2 separate regions of the Homo sapiens genome follow, and region 1 is linked to region 2. The links are contacts of gene promoters, found by promoter capture Hi-C in blood cells and fetal thymus (Javierre and others, 2016). All regions are on one chromosome and are shown on one strand. The core of a region is centred on a gene start or on the middle of the fragment in contact, and the rest is flanking DNA. Distances in the headings are between cores, read along the strand shown.

The links. The method cuts DNA at HindIII sites, captures the fragments that hold promoters and counts their contacts. A CHiCAGO score of 5 or more calls a contact.
Region 1: a contact is called between a fragment that was not itself captured here and the fragment with the promoter of SETBP1-DT in region 2, in 1 of 17 cell types (total B cells). The highest score is 5.9, in total B cells.

The regions. Positions count from the first base shown.
Region 1 is chr18:44,953,326-44,959,716 of GRCh38, forward strand. It overlaps SETBP1 (SET binding protein 1), which reads left to right. Exons shown (of 6, transcript NM_015559.3): 4 at 1-15. Among named protein-coding and RNA genes, the nearest start is that of MIR4319, 14 kb to the right of the region's middle. The HindIII fragment of the contact is 5,628 bases long and covers 1-5,302 here.
Region 2 is chr18:44,676,518-44,682,820 of GRCh38, forward strand. It overlaps SETBP1-DT (SETBP1 divergent transcript), which reads right to left and starts at 3,355. Exons shown (of 2, transcript NR_187430.2): 1 at 3,099-3,355; 2 at 414-2,372. It overlaps SETBP1 (SET binding protein 1), which reads left to right and starts at 4,371. Exons shown (of 6, transcript NM_015559.3): 1 at 4,371-4,504. RefSeq lists silencers at 2,496-3,135, 3,806-4,055, 4,196-4,245 and enhancers at 6,117-6,186, 6,297-6,303. The HindIII fragment of the contact is 7,071 bases long and covers 1-4,170 here.

The DNA.
Region 1 (6,391 bases), core at 1,239-3,738, 280 kb after region 2:
CCTCCATGTCTCCAGGTAAGGCTGTTTTTCTTCAGAAATGGATTATCAAGTTATTTCATTGCTGGGCTTTGCACCTCAGACACATCTGTGGCACATTGTGTTCACTAGTTTGCAAAGAGGTGGGAATCAAATTAAAATGGGTCTCCTTGCACATTTGAGTTTGCTGCACATTTTGTACATTGTTTACTTGGTATTTACTATCTTCCTTCTCTCCTGGAGCCATTGTTTGAGAAACTGTGAAGCCATAACCCTAATAGCTGCCTAGGCTGCAGTCGTGCCCACTATGGTTATGCTTTTTATTAAAGATGCTGTTCTTAGGTCCTCATCTGATCTAATGGTACAGTTTGCTGTTTGGATACAGCCTCTAAAACTCATTAGGAATACTAATAAGATCCAAGAATGCCAAGCCTGGGAGGAAATGACTAGCTAATTTATCTGGCATGCCAGCTCCACAAGTCACACATCTAATGTGAGAAGTCTACTGCAGAGCCATTAGAAGCTGATGACCAGTGAATCCTGAAGTCTAACTCATCAGGTAGCCACAGCCTTGGGCCATATTGTTTCCATTTTTTTTCCATGGGCATTTGATAAGCTGTCCTGGGCAGGTCCCTAAAATGAAAACTTGACTACATTCAGATACTTGTCATTTTCGTGCACTAAGTGGAAGGAGGCAGGCTGGAAGGTGATATGTGCCTCCTGCTTCCAGCAGACCTTATAACTGTGTCTCTTTGCATGCCCACTAGAAAGGGATTTTGCTCACTAATTTAAACTGAAATGCTGGTTGCTACTAGAAGGATCCTATTCCTTGTCAGTTGCTGGCAGAATTCCCTTGCCAACCTCCCCAACCACACAAAATCCTTCCCTGCTGTTAGGGCCTCACATTTCTGCAAAAGTATCCCTTTGACCCTGGCCTTACATCATATATGATAAGACCCCTATAAAGACCAGAGAAGTTAGTTATTAGGAAAATAGTAGAAACTTCTTACCTAGGAGTTGCAGAAGCTAAAAAAAAAAAAAAAAAAAAAAAAACAGTTCTTGTGTTCCCCCTGTTCCCAAATAGTATAAAACCCTCCAGCCAAAGCCTGGCTTTAAAAACCAATCATCCATGTTTAAGGTTTGGTGTAGCATTTCACTTCTGTTTATGATGTGTACCACTCACCTGTCCTCTCCCTTCCCAGGGAGCCCATATTTCCTGAAGGCAAGAATAGTCTATTCATGAAGAATTAGAGACATTTTCTAGGCCAGCAGATTTCAGGAAGAAATATGATTATGAGGTAGAAACCACTTAAAGATCGCCCCAGATTGCCACTAGCCTGTGAGTTGTAGTGGTAGATGTTCTCCTTGGTTAATGAAGAAACCAATTAGCAGTCACATCTCCTGCATTTACTAAAGGTAATAAATGACCTACACTTTGTGTCTGCCCAAAGTGGATGTGCTCATCTGGGCTTCATCATTTCTCATCATCAGACTTTGTTGAAGGTGCTTGGTTTTATGCAGAGTGCAGGCTAAGCCCACCTGGGCAGGAGGTACTACCTTGACCTTGCATGACATGTGAGAAACTGATCTCTTTCAGCATGATGAAACTGATTCATGGGACTTACACTAGCTGTGGACAGAAGATGTTCTTATTTTTGTAATTTTATGAGCCTTATTTAGCTAGAAAATAATGGTGAGGGGTAATTGTTAAGAACCTACACGCAAAAATCCTAACTTAACAGACCCAAGGAGCAAGACCTCAAGAAGCTAAAACCAGACGTTGTTGCATGTTAGGTTTCTCAACGATTTTACGAGGATTTGTCTGTGGCCAGGCTGTGTTGCTGAGTGCTGGTTGACTTCATAAAATTTCCCAGCTGGGGTTCACGTCCAGTCACTGTGTGCCCCCACTCTAGTTATATTGCTTTTCATGTGCTTGCATTTATATCGCATTCATCACTTTATTAAAACTCCTCCTCATCCCTGTCCCATCTCATCTCATCTTCAGCCAGCCACTTGAGATGGGAAGAAATAGGTGTCATGACAATGTCATGAAAGAAAGCTGGATTCAACCCGAAGAACTGGATACAAGGCCCAACTCTGTTACTAATTCTCCGTGTGCCCTTAGGCATGGGATTCCACTTCTTTGGGGTACTGTCTGCCCATCTGTAACTCATGGGGTTGGGCCAGACCTCTTGTGTATAGTGTGCTTCCATTCTTAAAGCCATTTCACATAAATTTTTGTGTAACACCCTTTGTGCAATGTTATTAGACAGGTACTTTTATTCCTATATTACAGATCAGGATACTGAGGCTCAAAGAGATCAAGAGAACTGTCCAGGTTCAAAAAACCACTGGTTTTGATTCTAAGCCCAGAACTTTGCCTGCTGCACTGAACCTTGACTGCCTGCCTGCCACCAAGCTAGTGAAAGCTGTGTTTAGAACACAGCTCTTGGTGCCCAGTCCAGTGCTCCTCTATGTCACCTCTGCCCTTTCTTTCAGAATCCCATTCATCCTCAGATCACATACCCTTCCCTAAGGCATCTGCACAGTGATTGTGTGATGATTACAAAAGAGAATAGTTAAGGAAAGAAGACACTCGTTTATTCAATTCCTGACCAATGTAGAAGGAATCCTTGTGGCCTTACCTTTTCTGAATATCAGCCTGGAGACACCATGGACAGAGCTTCCACCTCTGTCCTTACTGAAATCCAGCACTCTGAGTTATTTTTGCCACTGCTTTGTTTCTATCTCTGTCCTCTATGAGGTTATTTTTTCCCAGAACTTTAATGAATCATAATTGTTGGTGGCTGCTACATCTATATGAGCTATGCCTGATGTTCCTGCATATCTTGTTAAGTTTCTTACTAAGACAGACCAGATTCCCCCTTATTCCCCTCCCTTCCAAGCCTTAGCCTCTCATTGCTTATATCTCGAATGTCTCCTTCATGGCTGTGCCCCCAAAGCATGAGAGAAAAATATCTTTAGCATCACATAGAATCCAGTGTCAGAGTTTGTCAAGACTCCCTGAAGAGCATTCACCTTAATGTGATAGACTCTGAAGAGTGCCAAGTTCCATGAAAAGACAGGAGGCAGATGAGATGAAGCTGAGCTTACTAGATGCATTAAGAGCTTTCAGTGACTTTATCTGAGTGGAGGTGTCTATTCAGCTGGATGGTTCTGAGGGTCATGATTGGAAATAAGCACCTGCACTTTCTACAACTTCTCTCCCTCCACCTTTTCCTTCATCACACTTGATTCATTTCCTTAGCATCCAAATGTCCTATTTCACATGAGCTATTCTTCTCTAAAATAGATACAGTATAAATATAGATGTCATCCTTTTTAGCCTGTTGAGGATGAGAATTAGAAGCAGAGTCAAGAGAAGGCTTTGAGTGCTCCCTGAGATCAGAGCTGATGAAAGATACCATCTAAACGTAAGTCATTACCATTATGGAGAGAGGAATTAGAGACCCTATTTAGCAATAGCAGCAGTTGCACACTCCATTTCCTTTTTCTTGCTTGGAAAATCTTTCATTCTTTCTCTCCCTGCCCAGCAGATGGTTGCATTGTCTTGTTAGCCCACTTCTAACATACCTAGGGCTAGGATGCAGTACAGACTTCTGACCATTTTTCTGTATTTTACGCCTCCTTTTTTTGGTTTCAGAATGCAGTAGCTCTTTTGGCCTGTTTTCTAAATGCATACCATCTGCTAAATGTCCGTTTATAAAAATGCTTGCCTGGGACCAGAAAATGGATAAATAGTGAGAAGGTGCAATCTCAGAATTGGTATAAGCCTTATCAGCTCCTATTTGGGCCTGTCTGTCGGCAGGCATTGCCTTCTCTTGCACACTAACATTTAGCAGAGGGCCAGAAGAGCAAATGCATACTCCAGGGGTGACAATGCATAGTCAGAATGATGCCATGTGCCCTCAAAGCCAAGTTTTCACAAGGTGGTGGAAGAGTGATGAGTGACATTTTCTATTCAGACCACTTGGAAACAATCTTTGCATACTTTGACCTAAACTTATGCCAGATACTGAGACCTCATGACAACTGCTGTTCAAGCTCCTATCAGATAATTAAAAAAAAAAAATGAGAAGAGTGAATCTACATGTGTTACCTCTTAGTTTAGTGCCATTGTTAAGAAGGTAGCCATCCCAAGTCCCCGAATGTTGAGTACTGTCCTCATGATGAGTGGATTCTGAGAACTGATTCTGAGAGCACATTTCAGATATCCAAATTCTGCCATGTAGGTAGCTGGATTCCCTGGCACCTGGCCCCCTCCACCTCTCCTTGTAGCTTCTTTCTTGCCCTTTGCCAACTCCTCTTATCAGCACTGTGGAAATTTGAGGAGGCAGTCTCTGCTGTCACTCACTGGCAGGATATGAATGCCCAAGCCAAAAATAATACAAAAACCTCCTCCAAGCAGTCACCCAGATGAGGGAATTAGCCACGTGGATGAAATGTCATGAAAACTATACAAAGGAAATGTTTCAGGATCATTTCCTTAAAATGGAATAAAAGGAAGAAGAGGACTAATGGGAGGAGAAAATTAAGACCAGGAATAAAGAGAGTAAAACCTGGGAAGCTGATGAAATATAATCTTTTTAACCTTATTCCAAGTCCAATTCTGAGTCCTCTTGTGGGAGGAAATGAAAGATTAATTAGCTAATGGCTGTTGTGGAGTTCAAGTAGGGTTAGGAAGACCTGTCCAAATCTTATCTCTCACACTAACCAGCTGAAAGACCTCTTCTGTTTTTTGACTTTCAGTTTTCCAAAATGGGACTATGACCATAAAGGTTCTGACCAGACCTAATAGTTGAAGATTCTAAAAGACTCAAATTTATACAATGGAATTTCAATATCTACACCACTCCCCTGCACACATGTACAGGCAGTAGTTACAAAGTAAATATCCAAGTTATTGACCATGTTGACCAAATAGTTAGTTGTTCAATGAAGTTTGAAAACAGGTACCACTGGTTGTATATTAATCTATGAGACTCATCCCATTCATCTTTAGCTCCAGCCATTTCACTTAGCCATTGGATTTCTCCTTTGCGAAAGGTAGAACTCCTAGTGCTTGAGTCCCACTGGCTGAAAACATAGTCACTATCTGAGACACAAATAGGTTAGAACACAAATATGAACATTTTTATGGGAACAGACAGGGCACACTTGGATTTGTATTTAGACTCAGCATTAAATAAATCTTAATAATGTAGTACAAACATCTCATTTTGCTGATGAGCACACTGAGGCTTAAGAAGGTCAAGTGACTCATCTAATGATACATATTTAATTGGGTGAAGAGCTCAGACTGGGAAGCTTCACATCAAGGAGAAGGGCAGGGAAAGGGAGAGAGAGAGTGAATACAAGAAAAAAACAGAAAGGTGAGTCATGGGAGAGATGTTAAGCTATATGTTTTCCTTTGCTGTGAGCTGTTGTAAAAGGTAAGCATCTCTTTGACAATCATTTGGTTTCCAGGCTATCTCTGGGGACCCATGTCTGGGACTGGAAATGATCTTTGTGGGCTCTGATGGAAGTCATTTTTTTTTCCTTTCCTGTCTTAACAATTGCACATACTTATTTTATTGAGCCTCCCAAGTTTCCTCCTAAGGTTTCCTTTTGGAAACCAAGAATTAATCAAATTAAATGATATAACCCATAACTTTGTAGCAACGTAACAAAAAAAAATAGCTGAGACTCACAGCATATCCTTTGCTACATTGAAATCAGAAATGGAGCAATTCTGCCTTTGGAGTTTGAAGTCCCCGAGCCATTTATCTTCCCACAGTTGGCAAATGTTCTCGTGTCCTGGTGAAAGTTTTTATTTTTACCTCTGTGGGATTGGGAAATTATGCAGATTCAGGTGTGGGTGCAGAGAAGTTACAATTTTGACAGACTTGGCTTTGCTATAATATGGATCCTTTCTTGGCTGGAGAAATCAGGAAGCATGCCTTTGGAAGGCTGTCACTGGGCAGAGATAAGCAAGGCACCTTTGGAAGGAAACTCCAGAAAACCATCTCCTTACTCTATAAAAAGAACAAGTGATGAATACTTTTAAAATTGTGGCCTAGGCTTGAGCCAGTATAGCACTTAATCCAAGTTGTCTGAATTCAAGGGAAAATGATAAGGACAAGACAACATTTTTTAATGATTTATTTAATGCCTAGTATGTATAAGGCTTGTTGCAATCCCAGAAAGAAATCAAAGATGAGTAACTCAATGTTTTTGCCTTCAAAGAGACTACAATCCAGGAGGACCTCTATAATTTAGGGGAAGAAACCAGCAAGCAGCTCCTCATGTTACAAAGCCAACTGCAAGAGCCATCAGAAAGCCACAGAGAAAGAGCAAGGGCTGTCCAAGTGACTTGTGAGCCACTGCTGTGTTCTCAGTGGGGGAGGAGAGGTGG
Region 2 (6,303 bases), core at 2,105-4,604:
TCTGTGAGGATGGGGACTATGTCTTGGTCACATTTGTATCTCCAGTTGCTACTAATGTATCTGGCACATCACCATGCTCCATAAATATTTGCTGAGTGCCCGCATGATTCTGATACTGGAGACTGTGTGAGACTAAAAGATGTATGTCCTGTGCATTCTCATCAAGTGCTCGGATGGCCTTTTGATTTCTTCAAGGGCTCCTGGGCCCTGGAAATGGGTATCTTAAAATTGCCTGACTCTATTTTCAGGCTAGATCAAGTTCAGACTTTCTGTGTGTCAAGGTTTGTTTCTCAGACGATCACAAAGTGGTCTAATTGAGAAAGAAAATGAGAAGAATTCCTGTGACATTCACCTAGGATTTGAATATAGGTCCCATTCTATTAACAGATGTACAGTTTAGGGATGGGGGTTTAGTTTTTAGAAATCCTTTATTATCATATATTAAAATTTTTATATTTGTAATATATTATTATATACCAAAAATATTAATGTGTATAAAATATTTATTGTATCTATTTTACATATGTATATATATTTATATGTGTGTGTGTATATATATATATATATATATATATCTCCAATCATGCGTCAATTAGCTTATGGGGAGGTGTTCTGAGAAATACATCAGTAGGCGACTTTGTGCAAACATCATGGAGTGCACTTACACAAATCTAGATGATATAGGCTACTGCACACTCAGGCTATATGGGGTAGCCTATTGCTTCTAGGCTGCAAACCTGTACAGAATATTACTGTACTAAATACTGTGGGCAAATGTAACACAATGGTAAGTATTTGTGTATCTAAACACAGAAAATGTACAGCAAAAATACAGTATTATATTATATGGGATCACAGTAATATATGTGGTCTGTTGTTCACTGAAACATTATTATGGGTGTGTGTACACACACACACACACACACACACACAGAGGCATATATATTTTTTCATATATATGTAAGAGAGTGAGAATATCCCTCCTTTCCTTTCTCTCCTCTCCCCTCTCATGATTCAGAGATGGGCTACATACAAGGAAGGAACGTTGGATAAGAAGTCAAGGAACATAGCATCTATTCCTGGCTTTGAATTAACTTAGTGGCTTGGGGTAGTGCATCGTTTCCTCAGTTTTAAAAAGATGGGATTCTAATAGATGATCTCACAGGTAAACTTCTACTGCACTATAATTCTACAGACTTATCATCTATTGCAGTGAATTTTAATAAGGTATGTGCTTTTCTTAGCTACTTTTCTAATCCACACAACACCACAGGAAGGAAGACTCTGTAAATACGCCTAGGTTATAGAAGGGAAACGACTAGGGCAATAGGCTTTAGTTCTGGTTTGGATGACATCAGACAGCCATATGCTTGTGGACAAACCCTTCTGATTTCTGGGGCTACTTTCTCCACTGGAAAAGCGCGGGGAATAGGCCACATGCTATCTTAGTTCTCTGTGGACTTTGGTGTAGGATTTCAGAAATCTGGGTGTACAAGCAAATGAGAAAGGTCATTTGATTACAGAGAATAGTTGTTTTGATATTGTATTCTGTGCCTTGATCTCTACTTCTATCATCAGCTCATATGCTCTGCTATTTTTTTTCCTAACTAAGCATTATTTTCTCAGCAATAACAATGACGCGGTAAAAAAGCATAGTAGAAGACCTATCGAAAATTGCTCCACGGGAGGTCCTGCAGTGACAGAAGAAAAGTTTGTAGCCAGTCAGAACATTCCTCTGAAAAAAAGAGGACAGAGCACTTGGATCAGTAAAAGGGTGAACTATCCGTTCTGAGTCAGACTGAATCTGCATCCAGACAGGAATCGGGATGGGATTGGGGCTGGAAGGGGTTCACCCTTCAATCCCCAGTCTCTTTCACTCCACTTCACTGCAGCGTTCCTATGAAAAACTTGACGAAGAAGTTCTGTGAAGGAACTCAAACCAGCAGCCAATGCAGGGAGGCAGCCACTGATGGCCTCAGTGAGGGAATGCCCCCGACGTACCTCCAAATCATTCCTCAGTCCAAATAGCCTAAAACTCTCATGAAGAACGTGATAGGAGTCCTCTCAGAATCCGAGTCCTCGGTCAACTTTACCCCAAGTTCTTTGAGCGGAACCATTTGCAGACCTTCCCGAATCCGTATCTATCCTATATTGTTTTACAATGTAGACATGTCTCTGAAGGGTTCCATTCGTGTTTCCCTGAAAAGACCCCCTTTGTAGGCCAAATACAAAAACTCAGAGATTACAAATGCCACCATATTTTGTAAGAACTGAAGACATTCCACTTTGTTCTTCCCACCCTGAAAACAACTGCATGCCAGTCTGCGTTTGTCATCTCTCCGTGTCCTTCCCTTCATCAAGTGTCCAATTCTCTTGAATAACGAGAAAATGCACATGAGATCTGAATGCATACAAGTCGCTTAACAACAACAATAAAATAATAATAATAATTTAAAAAAACCCTGAAAGTGAAATATAATTACCAGGTTAAAAAAAAAATGCGCCCAGTTTCGAGAGCCTATCACAGCTCACGTCTGGGCGCGCAGTACCCCCCCGACACTGCTCCTGTTGTGTCAGATAGTGGCAGTGTTGAGCCCAGGAATACGCGCGGAGCCCGCGGCGATCCCCGCGGCCGCTCAGTCTTCGCGGCGGACTCCGGCGCGCAGGAGCCACTGGGCCGCAAGGGCGCCGGGGAGCGGGAGGGGCGCTGGGGGCGGCAAGGGGTCCCAGATCCCAGGCCACGAACTGTTTTCCTTTTCCCCGGGCAAGAGCCCCGCTCCCTTCAACTGACAGAAATTCACTGGGGCAGGGGGGCGAGTGGGGAGAGAGGTCGCTCAGGGCTCGCTACTGGCTGCGCCTCCCCCGGCTCTGGTCTGGGAAGCGGCTCTGGGCCCTCCGGGCGAGCAGCTTGGGCGCCGGCGCCCCCTGCGAGGAAGATCGCGGGGTGACGGTCGGTACCCGTTCGGCTGGGCCGCGCTGCCGCTCCGATCCACCTCCCTTCCGCGCCCGCGCCCTCCCCCTTCCTTTCACTAGGAGTCCGGGATTCGGAGAGGGCGCGGGAGGCAGGCACACGGGCCCGACCCCACTCCAGCGCTCACCGGGGACGCGGGCGGGCGGCGACGGGACGCGGCGGGGGCGCGGGGCGGGCGCGGCCATGGAGCAGCAGCGGCGGCGGCGGCGGCGGCGGCGGCAACACTAGCGACCGCGGGCGGACGAGCGGGCGGGCAGGGCCGCCGGGCTCAGCGGACCGAACTGCACAGCTCAGCAAAAGCGCCCTCGCCCTCCGCGCGCCGCCTCCTGCGAGCCCAAACCCACCAACATTTTTTAACGCTCCAACCCATCCTTTGAAGAAAAGCAAAAAAAAAAAAAAAAAAAAAAAAAAAAGCAAAAAAAGAAAAAGCATTGATCGGAGAGACGGGGATATATATATATATATATATATATATATATATATAAAATTTTTTTTGGCTCCTGCTAAAATTAGCAGGGCTCGCCGCGCGCCTGTGTGCCAGTGTGTGCGAGTGTGTGTGCGTGCGGGCGTGTGTGTGTGAATGTGATTACTCCAGGACTCCTCGGGCTCCGGAGACGCCATTTTCCCCCTTGATATCTCTCTCCATAAATCGGTGGCGCGGCGGAGGCGGCAGAGTCGGGCGGGAAGCGCGGGGCCGGCCGGGGCGCCCGCCGCTCGCCGCCGCCTCCGCGCGCCCGGGGGCCCCGGCGCCCCCCGAGCTAGGGCGGCCAGCTCGCGGCTCGCCGTTTGACAGATGCTCATCGCCATGGAGTTGCCGCAGCAGCACCTTTGGGGGCTCGGGCGAGCGACGGGAGCCGGGATCTGAGCGAGCGCCGGGGCCAGCGGAGCCGGAGCCGCCGGGACATGGGTGAGCACGCGCGGCGACCTTGGCCCGGGAGCCCGGGCGCCCAGCCTCCCTCCGCGCCGCGGGCCCCCGCACTCCCGGAACCGGGGGCGACGTGTGTGCCCTGCATGCAAAAGTTCACGTCGCCTTGCTGGGTCTTTGACTTTGCACCCGGCGGGAAGGGGGAGACCGGGCCGAGGGGGCGGGATGCCGGTCCGGGCGAGGTTGCAGGAGATGGGCGCGATTCCGGCGGGCCGGCGGGTGGGCGGCGATGCTGGCTCAATTGGAGTGGCTCGTTGGTGGCGGCGATGGTGGAAGCTTTGGGCTGGAGGGCTGGGAGCTTATTGAGTTTCGCCTAATCTGATCTACCCCCCCTCCGCCCCCCGCCTTTTGCACCCTCCCTCGGTCCTGCAGCCGGCTGGCGGGGCTGGCGGGTTTGGCGTTGGTGGAGTGGACTCGGGAGGGGGAGGGGGTAAGGAAAGGGGTGGGAAGGCAGGATTTTTTTTTTCTCTCTTTGTAACTTGCAGGTTAAGTGGAGCTAGAGAGCTACATTGTAACCTAGTTGGATTTTTTTGGGGGGGGAATGTATCAGAATCTAACGTGTCGTTAATAGAAAGAAGAACAGGCAAGAAGTGGTCCAGCCGGCGAAGGTTGGTGTGTGCTTGTGTTGTGCCTGTGTGTTAGTCTTTTTCTTAAAAATCTTAATCAATGGATTTGAGTCTCTTTCTTGTGCTCTCTGGTTTTGGGACTCTGAAAAGATAGGAATTCCCTTAAAAGCAGACGAATGCCTTTTTGAAAGCACGCATTGTGTGCGTTTCTAGAGGAGCCGTGGGCTTGGGAATGAACGGCAGGCTTCCCCGTTCGGTGGTTTCCAGTGGGAAATCACTCCGGAAAGGGAACCCTTCGGTATCGATTTATTGTTTTTGTCTTCCAAACCATTATCTCTTTGACCGAAATACTGTCTGAGAAGTTCCGCAGGGACAAAGTCAGGTAAACTGGACCGGGCAGATCTTTGGCAAGATGGTGATAACGGGGATGCTGTTTTCAGTGTCTGTTTGTGATGGAAGCATTGTTGGGTAATAGCAATTTCTGATCGGTAGAGCATGCTGGTTCTAAAAAAATAAGTTAACTGCCGAAATACTGTCTTCCAGCCCCCCTCCCCTGCACAGTACAGCACCTATTCCCCCCGCCCCCCCATCCAGACCGCTTACTACAAGTCTGAAATCGGATCCAACTGGAAATATTTTCATTGGAGATTGAAAGTTGTGCAATTGGAAATAGATGAGGCTAGAGGTATTGAGAGTGTGGAAGGGGAGTTCTTATTGCCCCCTAATGCTGCATTTATTCTTTATGTGTGTCTGTGTTGGATTCTCAGGGTGTGTATCTGTCTAAAAGGACTGTTGTGGGAAGGATTTCCGATTCGTTTCCGTTTCAAATAAACTGTCCTGATAATCTCACGGTTGACATCTAACGCTAAAAGGGCAATTTGTGTGTCTCTTTATCCCTGCAGAAACTCTCCTCCAAAAGGGCAGTTTATTCTGGAATTCTACAGCAGATACCTTTCCCTTCCAGCCCCTACACTCCCCCCACCTCCTGCCAACTATCCACACCTTTCCCCTTAAAGTTTAGTTGGAGTCCACTGGCGTTGATTGTTTTTCTCTTACATCTTTTTCCTTCTTTTTCTTTTCATTCCTTCACTCTTCATCCTGTTTTTCTTCTTTTTCTGTAGATTTATACTAAAAACTAATTTCTTGAAGTCTCTGTACTGTCACCAAAACTATCTGCCGATTTGGCACCATCTCTTACCCTCCTTTAGTAAATAGGTATATCTCCTGTGCCCCATCCAAACTCATCTTCACGTGCAAAGCATGTGTGTGTCGTGGGAGAAAGGGGATGGGGTAGAGAAGAGGTATTTGGAGAGGAAGGGCGGTGTTGTGTGCAGGCCACATCTTCAACACTGGACCAGACCTGGGCATTCCGGGGAGAGTTTCCTTTGCACACCCCAGCTGGGATGGGAAGGCGGAGCCAACCAGACAGGGGCGTGTGAGGGAGGAGAAAGTTTGTAGCACTTTAAGATGTAGCTAGTTTACCATCCCAGGTCACTCCCTCCCTTTTTTTCTGATTTCTCTGGCTTCTACCATCCTTAAACTCCCTGAGGGAGGCGTGAGCTCTTTTGCTCTGACGAGGGATTCCCAGGTGTCAGAGTGAAGGTGAGGTGCTGTGTTTTCCCCTGTGCTTAGTCTCATTGCCTGTTCCCAGAAAAGGGTATTAAGACAGAGTGTTTGGGGGAAAGTCGGAAGAGGAGGAAGAAATCAAGTGTGGTTAAACAGAGTATTTGCAAACGGCAGGGAATGTAGCCCCCAAAGATATGGAGACCAGGTACCCAGAGTGTTGCTTGGCACACGATTTCTCCTCCCCCGTTAAGGGGACAAAACCAAAACCAAAACAA